2 separate regions of the Homo sapiens genome follow, and region 2 is linked to region 1. Evidence: promoter capture Hi-C in human tissues and cell types (Jung and others, 2019). All regions are on one chromosome and are shown on one strand. The core of a region is centred on a gene start or on the middle of the fragment in contact, and the rest is flanking DNA. Distances in the headings are between cores, read along the strand shown. Region 1 holds the start of ADAM33 (ADAM metallopeptidase domain 33). Region 2 overlaps ATRN (attractin).

The links. The method cuts DNA at HindIII sites, captures the fragments that hold promoters and counts their contacts. A contact is called where the count stands out against the background at its distance.
Region 2: a contact is called between a fragment that was not itself captured here and the fragment with the promoter of ADAM33 in region 1, in 3 of the 25 tissues and cell types used here (dorsolateral prefrontal cortex, lymphoblastoid cells and mesenchymal stem cells).

The regions. Positions count from the first base shown.
Region 1 is chr20:3,679,651-3,684,217 of GRCh38, reverse strand. It overlaps ADAM33 (ADAM metallopeptidase domain 33), which reads left to right and starts at 2,208. Exons shown (of 22, transcript NM_025220.5): 1 at 2,208-2,310. The coding sequence starts at 2,214. RefSeq lists an enhancer at 1,890-2,783. The HindIII fragment of the contact is 20,528 bases long and covers 1-4,280 here.
Region 2 is chr20:3,559,620-3,564,186 of GRCh38, reverse strand. ATRN (attractin) reads right to left here. Exons shown (of 29, transcript NM_139321.3): 8 at 3,282-3,525; 9 at 1,728-1,911; 10 at 824-978. Among named protein-coding and RNA genes, the nearest start is that of ATRN, 91 kb to the right of the region's middle. The HindIII fragment of the contact is 4,783 bases long and covers 354-4,567 here.

The sequences.
Region 1 (4,567 bases), core at 959-3,458:
ACCTTCTGAGTTCAAGCGATTTTCCTGCCTCAGCCTCCCAAGTAGCTGGAACTACAGGCACTCACCACCATGCCCGGCTAATTTTTGTATTTTTAGTAGAGATGGGGTTTCACCATGTTGGCCAGACTGGTCTTGAACTCCTGACCTCCAGTGATCTGCCCGCCTCGGCCTCCCAAAGTGCTGGGATTACAGGCATGAGACACTGCGCCTGGCCAAGACCAGGAGTTTGAGACCAGCCTGGGAAACAAAGTGAGACCCCCCTGTCTACAGAAAAATTAAAAATTTTAGCTGGGCCTGGTGCCGTGTGCCTGTAGTTCCAGCTACTCAGGAGGCTGAGGTGGGAGGATACCTTGAGCCCAGGATTTCAAGGCTGCAATGAGGCATGATCAGGCCACTGTCCTCTAGCGTGGGTGACAGAGTGAGACCCTGTCTCTAAATAATAATCATAAGAACAACAAGGACCCTCTAAACGCACTGATATCTAAGGTGTATTAAGCGACCAAAAAAAAAAAAAAGAAAATCAAAGTGCAGAAAAACGTTAATAAGAGAAAAAAATATGTCTGTATTGTCTTGAGTGTGAAAAAATAATCTAAAAGCCTATGAAAGAAACTAATCATATTGGTTTCCTGTTGGTGAGGAGGGCTAAGAGCACGGAGACTTTTCCCTATGCTTTCTGTACTTTTTGATTTTGAGATATGTGAATGTAGGTTTCTCTCACTGCTCGAACTTTCACTAACCAAATTACTACATTCCAAATTCTCAAAAACAAATAGATTTACTTAAAAGTAGGCTGGGTGCGGTGTCTCACGCCTGTAATTCCAGCGCTTTGGGAGGCCGAGGCGGGCAGATCACCTGAGGTCGGGAGTTCGAGACCAGCCTGACCAACATGGAGAAACCCCATCTCTACTAAAAATACAAAATTAGCCAGGCGTGGTGGCGAATGCCTGTAATCCCAGCTACTCGGGAGGCTGAGGCAGAAGAATCACTTGAATCTGGGAGGCAGAGGTTGCAGTGAGCCCAGATCATGCCATTGCACTCCAGTCTGGGTAACAAGAGAGAAACTCTGTCTCAAAAAAAAAAAAAAAAAAAAAAGATTTGCTTAAAAGTTAACATCTCCGGCCGGGCGCGGTGGCTCATGCCTGTAATCCCAGCGCTTTGAGAGGCCGAGGCGGGTGGATCACGAGATCAGGAGATTGAGACCATCCTGGCCAAAATGGTGAAACCTCGTCTCTGCTAAAAATACAAAAGTTAGCTGGGGGTGGTAGCGCGCGCCTGTAGTCCCAGCTACTCGGGAGGCTGAGGCAGGAGAATCGCTTGAACCAGGGAGTCGGAGGTTGCAGTGAGCCAAGATCGCGCCGCTGCACTCCAGCCTGGCGACAGAGGGAGACTCCATCTCAAAAAAAAAAAAAAAAAAAAAGTTAACATCTCATCCAAATTTGCACCGAGTAGGAAAACAAAAGTTTAAAACATGAAACAGATGTTACTGAGGCCGAAAGGGTCTCCCAGGCCTGGGAGTCTGCAGCTTTTATGCAATTCTGCCCTCTGGCCACCGCCAGGGAAGAAAGGTTGTCTCCGTCTGCTGCATCGCCTTTGCCCAGCAATGAAGCCCCCAAGACAGCGGCAGCCGGTTGCCTGAACCTTCCTATCCTTGGGGGCACCCAGTGCAGGTGGATGACCCGACTCAACCTCCGCCAGGGCACCCTCGGGGCAGGACGGGTAGCAAGGAGGGGACAGAGATCGGCCCCAGGAGACCACGGAAGATCGCGCTCCTGGGGCCAACTTCAGCAGCGAGAGGCGGCCTTTGCCCACCGCCTCATCCCACCACGCCGCGGTCCTCCAAGAACCTTCCCAGCGGTTCTCTCCTCCTCTCAGGAGTAGAGGCCCTCTGAGACCGACGGGGAGGGACGGCTCGGGCCGGTCATCCGAGGGGCCGCACGGATTCCCTCCTCCGCCCAGCTCCACCCCCTCGAGGGGCGGCGGTCCGGGAGTGGCGACCCGGCTCCCCCATGGCGCGCGCCGTCGGGGCCCCTGGCCAGGCTCCGAGCGGGGTTGGCGGGGAGGGGAGGCGGGAGCGAGGGCGGGCGGTGGGAGGTGGGGGCGGGAAGGTCCGAAGGCGGCGGCCTGAGGCTGCACCGGGCACGGGTCGGCCGCAATCCAGCCTGGGCGGAGCCGGAGTTGCGAGCCGCTGCCTAGAGGCCGAGGAGCTCACAGCTATGGGCTGGAGGCCCCGGAGAGCTCGGGGGACCCCGTTGCTGCTGCTGCTACTACTGCTGCTGCTCTGGCCAGTGCCAGGCGCCGGGGTGCTTCAAGGTGAGGACGCGGGCGGGGTGCGCCCTGAGGGGCAGGCTAGGCGCGGTGGTGGTGGCGGGGATGGGTTCTGCTCAGAGCTCGGGTCAGCGCGCGGAGGGTCTCACGGCCCCGGCACCATACGGCCAGTAGGTCAGGGCGTGGGGACTCTTTGGGGGGGTCTCCGTGGGACCTGCCCAGGGACGCTCAAGTGTGCTTGGGCTGGCCCCGGGCCCGGACTTGCCCACACTGCCCGGCTGCCACTCCGCTGGCAAAGCAGAGGGCATGGCTCCCTCCCCCTCGGGGGCAGCCCAGCCCCCAGCCCATAGCCGTAGCCCCCTCTTCCTGGATTCTCGCTCTCACAACCAGCTTCCATCCGCAGGCCACCGTGTGACCCGCTCCTGCTCCTCCACCCCTTAGGACTCAGCGGGGCTCCGTCCTCTAGGAAGCCCCCATGCCCAAGAGTCCCCCAGAGTCCCTGCTTTGCTCTCAGGCTGCAGAACTAGCTGTGGCCTCCACCCTGCTCACCCCTCGTCCCTCCTCCCAGGGCAGCAGGGCAGTGTGTATGTTGTTTATATTGTTGCCTTGTTTGGTGAGATAGAGAAGGGCCTCTCCAGATAGAAGGTGTCTGTTTAGCAGTGCTCTGGGAAGACTGCAGCTGTCTCCTCGGGGTAACCCCTCCAAACAAAGATGTTAAGATGGGGCTGGAACAACCTCTGCAAGCGGGTGGGAGGATTAGCCAGTCCTGCACAGCAAGTGCCTGGCCGGGAACAGGGAGGGCAACCAGGGAGGGGGCATGCGGGGCTGGGCTGTGCTATGCAGACTGGGCGGTGGCTTCCACAGCACTGTGTGGGGACCAAACAGGTACAGGGGCCTGGTCTGTTCTGGCCCCAGGGGAGGGCCCCAGGCGGTCCACTGCTCCCTCCCCTCTGAGCCCTATCCTGGGGTCAGGGGAGGTGATGGGACCCCTGGGAGAGGGGCGTCTATGTGCCCAATACCAGCCTGGCTCCCTCGGGTTCCACCCCCATTCACCCGGTCACCGGAGCTCCAGCTCCAGCTCCAGCTCTGCCCCTCTCTCCCTCATTGGGGTCAGGGTGCCCGTGGCCAGCACGTGCGCGCAAGGCCATGTGGACAGCACCCACACACCACACTGCACCCACACCACACCTGTGCCCGGGCCCACCCTACCTCTTCCCCAAACCCTTAGAGGCCTAGGAGCAGCAAAGCTTGGTTCTCTACTCTCAGTTAAGTGCTCTCTGGGCTGAGAGACCTCCCCTCCTTCCCCTCCCCCACATCCACTCAGAGCCCTCCCTGCACTGGCCCCTCTAGCCTCCTTTCCAAGGTGGCAGACTCCTCTCGGCCCTCATCTGCCTGATGGCAATTCACTCATCCAATCAAGGAGGGCTTCTTGGAGGAAGGGTCTTTGATGTTTGTAGTCTGGGAGAGAAGGTGGAGGAGAAAAAAGGAGTTGGGGTGGCCTAGCAGGAGCTGAGTCACTTCCACAGGCAGCCATCAGCCCAGCAGGACTGAGGCCAGGGCTGCGTGGAGGGGGGAGGCTGTCTGTTCTGGGAGCTGGGACTGGGTACCGGGGGAAGGAGGGCTGCTGCAGGCTCTGGGTGCCTGGGGCCTGGCTCCTGCAGGGCGGGCCTGTGAGAGTGGTTGGGGCCAGTGGAGGGCTGGGAGCATTCCAGGGGAACATTCCAGGCGCCCTCTGAGTAATGCTTGGCTCTGGGATTCCTCCTAGAGCCCCCTTAGGCACACCCGGCCAGGGAGCACCAAGGCTCCGTCCAGAAGCGTCCCCTCCCCTTGAAGAGATGAGGAGGGGCCTTCTGGGCCAGGGTACCAAAACCCTGCCACCAGGACAGAGTCCCCGAGGGAGCTCTGGGCAAGGTGGACCTCGCAAGGCAACATCTGGCTGTTGTTTTTCTCAGATGATGGGGGGGGCACAAGTGTCCTCTCTTCGTACATCTCTCACCCTAAAGGCATCTGCTGCCCATCTAAAAATCCCTAAGGCTGCCGCGCTCTTTCCTTCCCCTCTGCACTGGCGGCCTTGGCCTCTTCCTTGTGATCGCCGAGCCCAAGCCTGCCCCCCGACAAAGGTCAGGGGACTCCCGTGTCCCCAGCTGAGCTGTCCCTTTCCAGCCTTCTCTTTTCCTCCTCCTTGATAGCTCCTCAGATCCAAGGATGCCCACGGGCGTCCCTCCTTCTCCAGGCTGAGCCCACGCGTGTTGAAGGTGAAGTCTGCCCCAAAAGGCCTCCAGTGCCTCCCTGGGGATGTCCT
Region 2 (4,567 bases), core at 1,496-3,995, 120 kb after region 1:
GGGCTTTAAGTTATTCATCTGATCTCCTCAATGTACAAACTGAGTGGCTGGCACACAAATGTCTGTTAAAAACGAATGTCTGACTTGGAATAGTCAAAATCACAGAGACAGACTGTAGAATAGTGGTTGCCAGGCATTGTGGGGAGGAAGAAATGGGACATTATTGTTTAATGGGTATACAGCTTCAGTCTTACAAGATGAAGACAGTTCTGAAGATGGATGGCGGTGATGGATTTATAACATTATGAATGTGTTTAGTATCACTAAACTAGACATTTAAATATAGTTAGGATGGTAAATTTTATGTGTATTTTACCACAATCAAAAAAATAATAATTTGTTTAAAATGAACATCTGACAATTTTTATGAAAGAGATCATCCGGTATGCATTTGCTTTGCATGAACAAATACTGCCCTCTTCTGGTCTGGTATATTGCCACACCAAGACCATGTGAGAAACCAGTTTTCTAGGGAATGAGATAAAGCTAATACGTGAACCAATTTTAACACAATGCTGGTGGTTGCAACTATGTAACACTACCAGGTAGGCATAACATGACAAAGGAGAGACTAGACACCTCAACTCAGCCTTAAAAATTAGCATTCAAGCAATTAACAGGAGTGATTTCAAAAAGAATTTAATGTAGAAATAATTTTTACCAGATGTGTAACATTAGTCAAATGAATATAAAAAATACCATTTGGACCTCTTTCAAATGGCCTGATCATTTTGAACTGGCAATATTTTCAGTCTCCTTTTAAATGCTGCTTATAGTATAGGCAAAAAGATGCCTGAAGAGAAAATGGTTTTGGGAAACTTACCAATGTCATAGGCCATGAAATCTGAAGAGAAGCATTTGGCGCCATGGCTCATAGATGTGTCATTGTGTGTGTTTCCTCCAAACACCAGCATGGTTCCACTCACTATCACAGCTGTGTGCAAGTAACGGAAAAATCGGCTGTCCTTAAGAATGGTCCTTTTGAGTTTATTTAGAAATAATAAATACAAGGTTAGTTTTTAAAGAATATTTATGTATCTGCTAATGCAAGCACAACCACTTTATTAACCTCAGACCCAAATGTACAAATCCTTCCAGAGTTTTCCCTACATAAAAGTAAGTTTTTCAACAATAAATACAGATAATTTTAAAGACCTGTAAGAGTTTTGGCAAAATATATTAAGAACCTTAAACTCTTCATACCCCGTAGCTATATAATTCCAGTTTCTGGGCAGAAATCATGTGAAATATTGACAGAAGCTTAATGCATAATGGTTTCTTAATGACATAAAAACTAGAAAGAAACCAAAACTTTCACCTGCATAGTCTCAGCATACCCACAAAATGGAGTATTGCACAGCTACTAAAAATGATTATTTTTATGACAGAATATAAAACAGTACCCATAGCAAGGTATCAAACATGTGAGGAAAAAGAGGAGAAACCATCGCTTTATAATTACATTATTTCGTAACTCAAATTTGCTTTACATTTGTTAAAAAACTCTAAGTATTTTCTAACCAACCTGCTACAGAATTACAGAATAACGTAACAAAATAAATACTAGCTACTTTATTACCCTCTGTTTATTTCCCAATTTCTCTATATATAATGCCGAACAGAATTATCTGCCAGGCATGAAAACAAAAAGATAGCACAATATTTTCTCCACAATTGCCTCTACAGAATTTACACCTTAAAGTGAAAGCTCAAGAAAAAGTACCCACCACATCTGGGTATCCACATCATATCGGTAGAGATCATCTGCAAGCCGGTACTTATTGGCACTGAAAGCCTTGTAGCCACCATGAACGTATAGGGCCCTGGTCCTATGGTCGTAAACACTGCTATGGCCGTAACCCCCTTGCACAAGGGCACCCTGGGTGTGTAATATACTCCATGTGTTCTTATCTGGAAAGGAAAGACAGTTAAAGGCAAGCATGGCAGGCTCCTCCTCTCTACTACTGAAAATGTCCAAAGAGCTTAGGGCATGAGAATGGATTTCAGGAGACCTGATACATATACTTTTTTATCTTTATATTTTAAAGAAAGCCACCTAAAACTTATAACAAAGCCATGTGGCCCAATTCCAGTCTGTTCTATGTTCTGATGTTCTAATATGCCATGTAGGAAAAGAATTAACTAAATTTAAAACACTCAGGGCCAGGCGAAGTGGCTTACATGTGTAATCCCAGCACTTTGGGAGGCTAAGGTGGGAGGATCACTTGAGGCCTGCTATGTTGGCCAGCCTGGGCAACATAGCAAGATCCCATCTCTACTAAAATTAAAAAATTAGCCAGGAGTGGTGGCACGCACCTGTAGTCCCAGCTACTAGGGAGGCTAAGGTGGGAGGATCACTTGAGGACAGGGCATCAAGGCTGCAGTGAGCTATGATTGTGCCACTGCACTCCAGCCTGTGTGAGAGAACAAGAGCCTGTCTCAATAAATAAAATGTTCACTCAAATGAACATTTAATTCCCTACAACCTTTGGTGACCAATATACAGATATATTTTATAGGCCTACTTTCACAAAATGTTAATTATACCTGGTATTCCTACTGCACAACAACAGATACAATGAAATTTAACCAAGGGAAATATTTCATATTAAGGGTAAATCATACTCCACTAAACCAATCTCTAAAGGGCTGGGCAAATATTTTTTTTCTTCAATATTTATTGTTTTGAACCATTTTTATTTATTTATTTTAAATACCCAAAGCACTTTGCGTCATCTTTGGCTCCTTACCAAATTGACAGTAACAAATACATACTACATAGGAGCATCGATAATCTGCATTTCACTGGTAATACATCAATGTTAACTATGTTGCTTTTGTTTGTTTGTTTGTTTGTTTGTTTTGAGACGGAGTCTCACTCTGTCCCCCAGGCTGGAGTGCAGTGGTGCAATCTTGGCTCACTGCAACCTCCACCTCCCGGGTTCAAGCGATTCTCCTGCCTCAGCCTCCTGAGTTGCTGGGATTATAGGTGCCCGCCACCAGGACAGGCTAATTTTTGTATTTTTAGTAGAGACAGGGTTTCACCATGTTGGTGCCAGGCTGGTCTTGAACTCCTGACCTTAGGTGATCCGCCCGCCTCAGCCTCCCAAAGTGCTGGGATTACAGGAGTGGGCCACCACGCCTGGGCCCAGTGTTTACTATGTTTCAAGATAAAGTACCGAATCAAGATTAGGTTGAACTTTTCTAAACAGTCAAAATAATAAGCTTAGAGGTTTTAAATCTGATGTTCAAAAGGCATCTACTGGAAAAAATATACCTACCCAAATCATATTCCTGCACATTGCTTATATATCCATAGAGAGGGCAGTGACCAAAGATGACCAGCATGACCACTCGGCCATTCTTCAGTGTAACAATGTGTGCAGAGTGCCCAACCACTGCATACTGCTCCTTTGCCTTAGGGGTCAACAACACCCATGACTCATTATGAATGTGAAAAACTCTCAACTCATTGGTCACATTCCCAGTTGAATCAATTTTTCCTCCATACATGTAAATTTTATCCTAGGAAAAAAATGCAAACAAAATTTTTAAAAACATTGAAAAGATTAAATCTGAGAACAGAGAAGAACAAAAGCTCAATATTATTCTCAGCTTAAAAAAGGTTAGTCAAGAAACTAAAAATAGAACTACCCTATGATCCAACAATTTCGATACTGGGTATATATCCAAAAGAATGGAAATGAACATATCAAAGAGATATCTGCACTCCCATGTTAATTGCAGCACAATTGACAATAGCCAAAACATGGAATCAACGTGTCTATCAATGGATAATTAGATAAAGAAAATGTGGTGTATATATACACAATGGAGCATTATTCAGCCGTTAAAAAGAATGACATCCAGTCATTTTGTAGCAACATGGACTGAACTGGAGGTCATTATGTTAAGTAAAATAAGCCAAGCACAGAGACAAATATCACATTATCAATCATATGTGGGAACTAAAAAAGTGGATCTCATGAAGATAGAGAGTAGACTGGTGGTTACCAGAGGCTGGCAGGCTGGTGGGGGAGAATGAAGAAGGAAAAAAAGAATGTAAATATATTTATTACCACCAAACTGTACACTTAAAAATGGTAAAGATGGTACCATTATATACGTATATTTTACCTCAGTAAAAAATAAATTAAAAAAAATTTTAAGGGTTAGCAAAAGGCGCCTTTCAGTGAGTTACTAGGAAAAGGATAAAAAAAGGGAAAAGGGAAATAAAACTAATCATATTTTACATCTCTAATACTTCACCAGTTTTCTTGGACTTCCTCACATGAATCTTTTATAGTATAAAAGGACTTGGAAAAATAAAGTTGCCTCATCCTACCATCTATCTATAAAAATGAGGAAATGAAAATGTTTGTTCAGCCACATTACAATGTGGCTATTCTTGGCTAAACTTGCTTATGAGAATAAAAGCTAATCTACACTTTTTAATCTACATCTTTAACCATTTAGTGCCATTATTATAATACCCCATTACAGTTTGAAGCCATTAAAATCTCTTGAGTTAAAAAAGTTTCCATTTTAATTTCTACTTATAACTTAG